Linked DNA regions of Homo sapiens: region 2 is linked to region 1. The links are contacts of gene promoters, found by promoter capture Hi-C in blood cells and fetal thymus (Javierre and others, 2016). All regions are on one chromosome and are shown on one strand. Each heading gives the region's core, a stretch centred on a gene start or on the middle of the fragment in contact. The rest is flanking DNA. Distances are from core to core; before and after follow the strand shown. Region 1 holds the start of CST9 (cystatin 9). Region 2 has its middle 14 kb from the start of LINC01747.

What was found. Contacts are between HindIII fragments. The CHiCAGO score rates a contact against its expected background, and 5 or more counts as called.
Region 2: a contact is called between a fragment that was not itself captured here and the fragment with the promoter of CST9 in region 1, in 1 of 17 cell types (total B cells). The highest score is 5.3, in total B cells.

The regions. Positions count from the first base shown.
Region 1 is chr20:23,603,336-23,607,722 of GRCh38, forward strand. CST9 (cystatin 9) reads right to left here and starts at 2,582. Exons shown (of 2, transcript NM_001008693.3): 1 at 2,275-2,582; 2 at 1-399. The coding sequence starts at 2,529. The coding sequence ends at 175. The HindIII fragment of the contact is 2,472 bases long and covers 1,086-3,557 here.
Region 2 is chr20:22,697,419-22,701,768 of GRCh38, forward strand. No RefSeq gene overlaps it. Among named protein-coding and RNA genes, the nearest start is that of LINC01747, 14 kb to the left of the region's middle. The HindIII fragment of the contact is 1,485 bases long and covers 2,102-3,586 here.

The DNA.
Region 1 (4,387 bases), core at 1,332-3,831:
GAGAAGGTTCTGAAGGCCATGTGGCCCAGGTGCAGGCAGCTGCAATGGTGTCAGAGGGCAGAATCAGGAAACTCAGATTGGCCAGGGGCCTGAAAGTGAACCCCTGGGCTTAATGCCTCACTGGGCTTCCCACTAAGGCACAAGCAGGGCAGCCTGGTACAGCCTGCTGTGGGCTCACTTCCCTTTGTCCCTCGGAATGGCTTTGTCAGCTGCTCCTGTGCCCACACCACACCCCATGCAGCATCCACAGCTGTGGACCTGAGGAAAGCTGATGCCCTGTCTTACGTTGTTCAGCTCCAGGCTTTCTTGAAAAGGGCAGTTGTCAATGTCATCTTCAAATTTCCTACATACGGTTTGGCGCAGTTGCAGATTCATGGAGAACACCATCTTACCTCGCCACTGTTGGACAAAAGAAGATTAAAGTGGATGCACCGTCTTCCTGCCCCTAAGTAGCTACTAGTGAAGATGCCATTTGAGTAGGAGAGGCCCCAACACTTTACTGCATTTGAGAGCTTGCCCATGGGCCTGGCATCAGCTCACTGGAGGTGAAACCCAGGGGATCTTCTCTAGACTGAGGAGTTAAGAGCAAAAAGCAGGTGGGCATGGTGGGTCTGGGGAGGATGCAGGCTGAGTCAGACCCCACTAACACATTATCCACCTCCACCCACCCCCATTTCCCACGGTGAGACTCCAGCTTCACTCTCAGTAGGCATCTGATCTTGCAGCTGCATTCCCAGAGGACAGAGCCACATGTCCGGGAGGGTGTTGGATCTCCAAGAGTTTTCAGGGTAACTTCAGCCCTGGGACAGAGGGAGCCTCATCTACAGTGTGTTGTCAAACCTTCCAAGTGACCTCCAGCAAGAAGAATGACACACAGCGCTCCCACTACACACAGGCACACACCCTGGGAAAATGGGTTCAAGAAATACCATCTGCCCTATTGCAAAGTGCATGCTGAAGTTCTCCTTGCCCTCCTTCCCACTCCATTCTATTTAATTCCACTCCATAGCCTCCCTCTCACCCATCTATTCTTCCCAGCCCCCAAACTGATGCTGGGATTGCCATATCCAGGAAGCCATGTGGAAAGCTTTTAGGACTTACTGTCATTTAGGACTTATAGACCATAGTAAGGAGCTTAGATTTTATTCTAACGGTATTAAGAATGGAGGCTTACACTGAGGTCTTGGAGAATCAAGCAAAGCACTGGGAAAGCAGAAGCATGAGGCCTGGCCAATCTCAATCTCTGAGACTTCCAAGGTTCCAGCATGAATATTAGCAGCCACCATTACTGGACCAGATGCCCCTCTGAGGGTTGCATCAGGCTTTTAATTCTCCTGAGAGGAGGCAGCAAATGAGCAAGGAGGAAAATTCCTCTGTACCAGCATTGGAATCCTGAGGATGGCAGTGAGGAATCCACCCCAGGAGGCAGAGAACCAGCCAGAGCCTTGCACAGAGTCTTTCCAGAGCTTAAGCTCTGTGCGGTACTAGAGTCCCTCTGCCTTTCTTTCAGGCTCTTGGTGCTGAGAAAGGAAGAGCAATGCTCCTTCTCTCTCTAAACCAGAAGTTCTCCACTAGGAGGGCATTTTAATTGTTCATGCCTGAAGCCCAGATGAACTGTGCATTCCTGACCACATTTAATGATTTCATCAAAAAGGCAAGCATTTTAGGATAAAGGTCCATTGAGGAAGAGTGTAAATTGGCCTTCAGTTCATTAAGTGCAGACAGAGCAAGGAGCCCAGAGAAGGTGGAGATCAGAGAACTAACCTTTCACGGTGGCCTCTCAGGGCTGATGGTGTTCTTTATTGCCCTCGAATTCTCACTGTTCTCTCTCTGTCTGCCTGTCTCTCTCTCTCTCTGTCTCTCTCTCTCTGTCTGTCTGTCTCTCTCTGTCTCTCTCTCTCTCTCCCTCTGTGTGTCCTTGCTTTTCCATTTTCATTTTATGACCTGGAAATGTTTATCAGTCTCTTTGGTTATTTTCTCTTCTTGTCAGCTTCATCTCCTTAGAAGTCCTTATTTTGAAGTCACTCTTCAGTTATACAATGTCTTAAAAATCATGAAGATTGAAAAATATATTTTGCATGTGAATAGACATTTACCTAATTTAAAAAAAATTTTAAGTTCAATGTTTTCCAAAACTAAAACTACCGTAATTGGTTGTGGACTACCTGACTATGGACTGCTGATGGTGAACCAAGTCTCCTAGACTAGACATCTTGGTCCCTCACTTAGGGGCAGATGGAGAAGGACAGGCCAGAAGAGGATGTGGTCACCAACCTTTCTGTCCATGCTATCCTCCCTCCATGAACTCAGGACGCGCAACAGCCTGTAGGCATGCTCCTCCTTGCTCTGCACGTTGAAAGTGTTCAAGGCAAACTCCACTGTGGCGAGGAACATAGGATCCTGGACTATTTTATTATTACCACCCATTTCCTCTTCAGAACACCAGGCATAAGTCACCAGGAGCTGGAAGCCCATGAGAAGCAGTGACAGTGCCCAGGGCATAGCCTTCCTCCTCTGCGGACTCGACATGATGCAGGCTCCAGCAGCCCTTGCCTTTGCCCTTCAGATCCCTGGCGTCCACTGGAGCCTTCCAGGGCTCAGGTCTGGCCTTTAAATTCACCTGCTGGGGCAGAAACTCCTCCCTCCAGGCCTCACCTCTGCAGTTACACCCTGTCTCTCCCACACATGGCCTCCCTTCTTCCAAAGGCGTTTAAATCATCTCCTGTTTAGGGGAGAGGAACAGCACCCAGGCAGGTGGGTTGGAAAAGACTAGCAATGGGAGAGATAGTGCCCTGAACATGAGGCCCAGCCCCAGCTGCCCCAGCACCTCCGCAGGCTAAAGGAGACCTCTACTGGGCGCCCCAGAGTCAGAGCCCGGCACAGGAACACAAGTGTGAGAGGTATGAGTGGAAGGTGAGCCCTGGACTCAGCAGTGGGGGTGGGCTGGGAGGGGGAGGTTAGGTGGAAAGGCAGAGACAAAAGGATGGAAAGGGATGACAGTGGATGCTAGTATCATGGGTGAGCAGGTACAGCGCCCCGAGAAAGCACTGGGCCTCTTGAGAGAGAGGCGGGGAGCCCGGGAGGATTGGCGGGATGTCCTGCAGGTGTCTGCTCCCCCGAGGGTCTCGGGAGGGGGGCACCAGCCTGGGGGTCGTGGGCAGAGGTTGAGGAAATCAAGAGCAGGAGCCCCCAACCCTGTTCTCTGCACCTCCCTAAATGCAGCTTCCCAGCCCAGGGACGCGCTGCCAAGTGCTGGTACTAGGGGCCTGGCTAGTTATGGCTGCCCCTATTCCTCAAAGGTGTTTCCAGGACGGGTGGCCGCTTGCAATTGGAGCAGTGGAGAACCAGAAAGACGAAGATGCCCTCAGGGATGGCTGAAGTGCACCCATTAGGTTGTCACGGGTTCCCTCCTGTGGCCACAGCCGGCACAGCACTCTGCGGCACAGTTTGTGGGTGGAGATTCTGAGTTCTCGACCAAGACCCACATAGCCTCCAACTCCAACCGCAAATGGGGCTCTCAAAAGACTGAATAATGCACTCTTCACAGACCAGACTTAAGCTTTGTCCCTGTGAAATATGCCTTTGATGTTTATCCGTAGCTCCTTGTAAACTTCAGAAGCAACCAGCATCCCCTGATGTCACGTTAAAAAGCAAGTTCCTAGTTTCCCCACCCAAAGATTCTGACCCAGTAGCTGTGAGCAGGGCCAGGGAAACTACATTTCTCACCAGCTTCCAGAGGATGGTTGTGTTCCCGGTCTCAGAACCATACTTTGAGTGGTGCAGGTTCAGAATACTTCCTGGGAAGTGCATACAGACCAAACCACATATGAGAAGTAACTCAGCTTGAGGGGCATGGAGGTCAGGGGATGAGAATGGCTTTTGTGGGGCACACAGGATGGGGGACAGGCTTAGACAGCATGCCTGGTGATAAAGAATAAGAGTTTGTTTCTAGACCCTGTTTGCAAAGAAAAAGCAACTCAATGTGACAATTCCAGGAAAGCAGCCAGATGTGCCAAAAACATCACCCAAGGAGTCTGTATCCTTTCTCTGATGGCGTTGAGTTCACTGGAACTGCAGCTGAAGCGTAACTAATGTGGTTTCTTAGCTGGAGAGTGATGGTGCACGTAGGGGTAGGAAGGGGGTGTCAGTGAGGGCGGAAATGCCTTTGTGGGTTTTGGGATGAGCAGGCCATAAGGTGCTGTGAGAACTAGAATCCTGATGCCTGGAATAGGTTGCGAGTGTCCTGAGAGAGGCCTGCAATGCCCATGGAGGTCACTCTCACCTTGTAAGTTCAGCGGCTGACAAACTTGGGGCATCCTGCCAATTGCCAGTGGCTCCCCCACCATTCTGAGGGCCGATACCCACATGTGCTCCAAGGGAGTGCCCA
Region 2 (4,350 bases), core at 1,594-4,093, 910 kb before region 1:
TTGGCTTTGTATTGGATCATTCCCATCACTCAACAAGCTTATATAATTTCTCTCATCTGAAGATCACTCTCATGACCCTTCTTCCTCCAGCTTATGTACATTTCTTTGCTTTCCATTTGAGACAAAACTCTGAAAGATGTCACTTGCTGTCATTAATTCATTGCTTCCCACTTTCTTTTGATTCCACTCTCATCAGACTAGAATCCTTGAACTCAACTAACTGCTCTTGTCAAGATCACCTTGACCTCCATGTTGCTGAAGCCAAAGGTCCATTCTCAGTCCTCATCCGATTTGACCCTTCAGCAGCATTGGAAAAGATTTATTGAGTGCTTCCAACTCCTTGAAACATTTTCTGCATTTGGCTTCTAGGACACCACACACTGCTTTGTTTTCTCTGTCACCTTTGCCAGTTTCTCCTTTGTCCATGACCTTGTAATGTCAGCTCTTTGTCTTCTTTTTAAAGACACTCCCCTTTGATGACCCCATTTTGTCTCATAGCTTTAAATACCATTGGTATGCTATAACTTCCATGTTTATATTTTTAACCTAAATCTTTTCCTAAATTCCAGATTTATATACCCAACTGCCTACTCAACCTTTCCACTTGGATGCCTAAGCACATCTCAAGGTGATCATAGCTAACACAGAACTCTTGGGTTTTAGCCTGAGCCTGTTCCACTGCCACCTTTCCATGCCAGTTAATAGAAACTCCACCATCCCAACAGCCCAGGGAACATCTTGGTGGCATTCTCAACCTCACTTTTTCACTTATCTCTACATCAAACCTGTTATAAAACCCATTGGCTCTATCTTCAGAATACTGAGAACCTGACCAATTCTCACTATCTTTTCTGCTACTACCCTGGTCTAAATACCATCATCTAATTTTTGTTTTCTTGTTTCTGTCCCTGTTTCCTTGTAATCTATTCCCAGCATGGCAGCCAGGTTTAAGTAATCCTTAGAATACTTGAGTAACCTGATATCAGTGCTGTGCTAATAACCTTCAGGGCCTCCGTTTTATTCAGAATAAAAGTTTTATTCTGAATAAAACTCCTTGCCGTGGCCTGGAAGTCCCACAGATGTGGGTCCTGCTGCTTCCTGACATCAGCTCCTGGGATATTTCCTTTTGCTCATTTTGTTGCAGCCACGCTGGCCACTGTAATCTCTGAAATGTGAACACTCTTCCTCCATATGTCAGTTTGACTCACTCCTGCACTTCCTCCGAGTCTTTCCCAAATGCCACCTTTCCAATGAGGCCTCCCTGAGCACTTCGTTTAATTCTGTAACTGCCCCACCCTCTCTGCTCTGACTCAATTCTGCTGTACTCTTTACCATTTCCTAGATAATTTACTCACTTATTACTCTGTTTTACCTGTTTCCAACTGCTAGGATGCAACCAAGTTCAAGGAGGGCCAGCATTGTTTTGTTCATTGATGTTTTCAAGTACCCAGAACAGTGTCAGCACATGTGAATCTTTAATAAATATCTGTTAAATAGAAATTGACTTTCACAATTCTCTTGTCTAAGTTTGTGTGCTTTTTTCATCTGTCATGGAATTTCCTGCTGTTCATTTTAATCTGATCTGACCTGGATAAAAATATCAAAGTGAGGAGGCAGAGAATGCTGTTTCAATAGCTTTGGACCATGAACCTATTTTACCTTAAAAATTTTATGCCAAAGAGGCTGGGTTTAAGACCAGGCAGGACAATGTGCTCCTTCTTTGGACAAAGATGTCACAAGTGCCCCCGTCCATTGTGATGACAAGAGTCTCTGCTGTCCTCCTGCAGTGGTGGTAACTGTGCACTGATTTTTCACCTGCTGTCTTCCCTTCAGGCCATGGAGTGAGAGCGGGCAGCCTCTTTCCCAGTTAGGGCTCTGAGACAGAGTCGTGCCAATTGAGCATACAATCTGATGACCTCTGTGCTTCCAATTAAGTTCAGTCTCCCAACTCTCTGCTCAGCTTCACTTGATGGTTAATGGAAATGAGTTGTGTTTCTAGATCTGAGCCACACACTTGGTGTTTCCACTGTCATTTGCTGAGTGCAAGTGCAGTATCAAATGGCTCCCCTCTGTGCCTCACAGGTGAGACCTAGGAATCCAAAGCTTTCACCTCCTCTGCTCCACCCCATTATCCGTGGATGCAACTATTGCACGTGGGCCTGCCCTGTGAGGCTGTGGGCGACATTGCAACAAGATTCTCTGCTGCCAGTTTGTAGCCCCTAAACCCAGTGCATCCCTGACATCCAGCACCAGTGAGGAACATTGCAGAATGAACTGGTGGTGGCCAATTCAGCAGCCACAGCATCTTCAGTGGTTTAATGTAAATATACACAATTATGAAAACAATGCCCTGCAATTGTGCTCAAAGTCTTTGCCACAACAACTCCTCTCCTCTTCTCCTTGCCGTAATTCTCTCTTCCTATCTTATGACTTAGGAGGTTCAATCTATTCTCCCCTTGCCAGAGGAATTCAGAACGCTGTCAAACTTAAATAGCTATGTAATGTATCTATGGGCAGGTTGGCTGTGGGAGGCTTGGAAGTCAATGGTATTTTAAATATTCTCTCTCTGTGTTCAAGACTGGACCTCAATGTGTCTGGACAAGTAGAGAGAAAGAAATGGCAGTAAGACCTGCCCTGTCTCTGTTCAGTGTGCAGTGGGAAAGTCCAACTCTTCACTCATGCAGGCATCCTCTGATAGGCACAGTAGTGTTTGTGTGCATGTGTGTCATGCATGTGCATGTACATGCATGTGTGTGCACATGTGTGCGCATGTGTGTGCTGAGCTACCTGTAAAGAGTAAAGCAGTAATTACTCCCGATGAGCTGGACAGAAGCCTCCCTCTTTACTGGAGAGAACGACTTGAAACTGAGTGTGGCAGGGTTGGGGGAGAGAGTGCTGGCACCAGCAGCTGCTTTAATAATGCCACTCACCTTTGCTGATTAATATGCTTGTCAAAATAAAAGGCAAATGGAAATGACCCCACAGCACAGAGAGTGGGATGGGATTGGCCGAGCCATCTGGCCCCAGATTAATTGCTAGCACTTTCATCTCCTCTCCTGGGCTCCAGATACAATGGGATGATAATGGAAAAGAAATGCACCCAGATCTGTCTATCTTGCTCCTTGTATTCATAGCTGGGCCCAGAGCCAGTCATGCTTTGCTGGCATTTAGTTCCCCAGGGGGTTGAAAGAACTCAGGCATCTTTCCCAGAAAAACACTCTCCAAAGGCCTCAACAGTTTGCAGCAGAGCTCTACTGTAGCTCTACTCAGCTTCATCAATAAGGGCACCATAGGGCAAAGCAAAACAGCTTCCCACCTGAAAACAAGAGCACCCTATCAGAGGAACTCTAAGAGGTCTGTTTGCTTTACCCAGAAATGAATGCAGCTGAGTTAGGAGGCCCAGGAAGGGAAGAGCTTGTCCACAGCAGGGATAATGGAGAGGCACTCCTGATAGCAGACTGGAAAGAGTTGGACACTTTGGTCTGCACAAATGGATCTTGAGTTACACTGGAATTGTAGATGATATAGACAATGAAAATGGTTATTCCCACAGCCCAGAATAATGGCACTAGGAATCATCCCAGGAAGCTTCAAAGGAGCTCTGTACTTATAGTTCAAAAAACAGCTTGCATTTTGGGGAAGAAACAGTGAAATGCTATGTTTTCACCAAAAATGCTTTATTTTCCCCCTAGATATACAGAAAGAGGATATTTCCATGTCCCTTTTGGTTGAGGGTAGGGAATCTGACTTTGTTCTGGTAATAGGATGTGGGTGCAGTGAGGTAGCTTGATCCTGAAGCCTCCCATGGGGTCTCTGTGTTCTCTCTATTCCATCTCTGCTTCTCTTGTGGAGGTCCTAAAGGAAGGTGGAGCAACAAGAGAGAAGGATCCTGGGTCCCTTAGTGACTCTGTGGAGCACAGCCACTCCCACCCCTACCCCCAGCTACTCCTCTGAGCCAAAGTCAGGGCAAACAAGGAATAACCTCCCTAGTGTGCTAAGCCTCCGTAACAAAGTACCGCAGGCTGGGTGCCTTAAGACAAGAGAAAGGTATTGTCTCACATTCCCGGAGCTTGCCCTGGGCCATGTTCACTATCAAGGCTCCAGGGAAGGATCCTTCCTTCCTCTTTCTTGTCTCTGTGGTTGCTGGGAATCGTTGGCACCCCTTGGCCCATAGAGGCTCCACCCCAGTCACAGCCTCTGTCCACACGTGATGCTGTCCTTCTGTGTCTGCATGTGTCCACATTTTCCTTTCTTATAAGGACACCAGACATGGCTCAGGGCCCACCTTAAGCCAGCATGACTCCTTCCTAAGTTGATTATATCTTCAAGGACCCTGTTTCCAAATAAAGT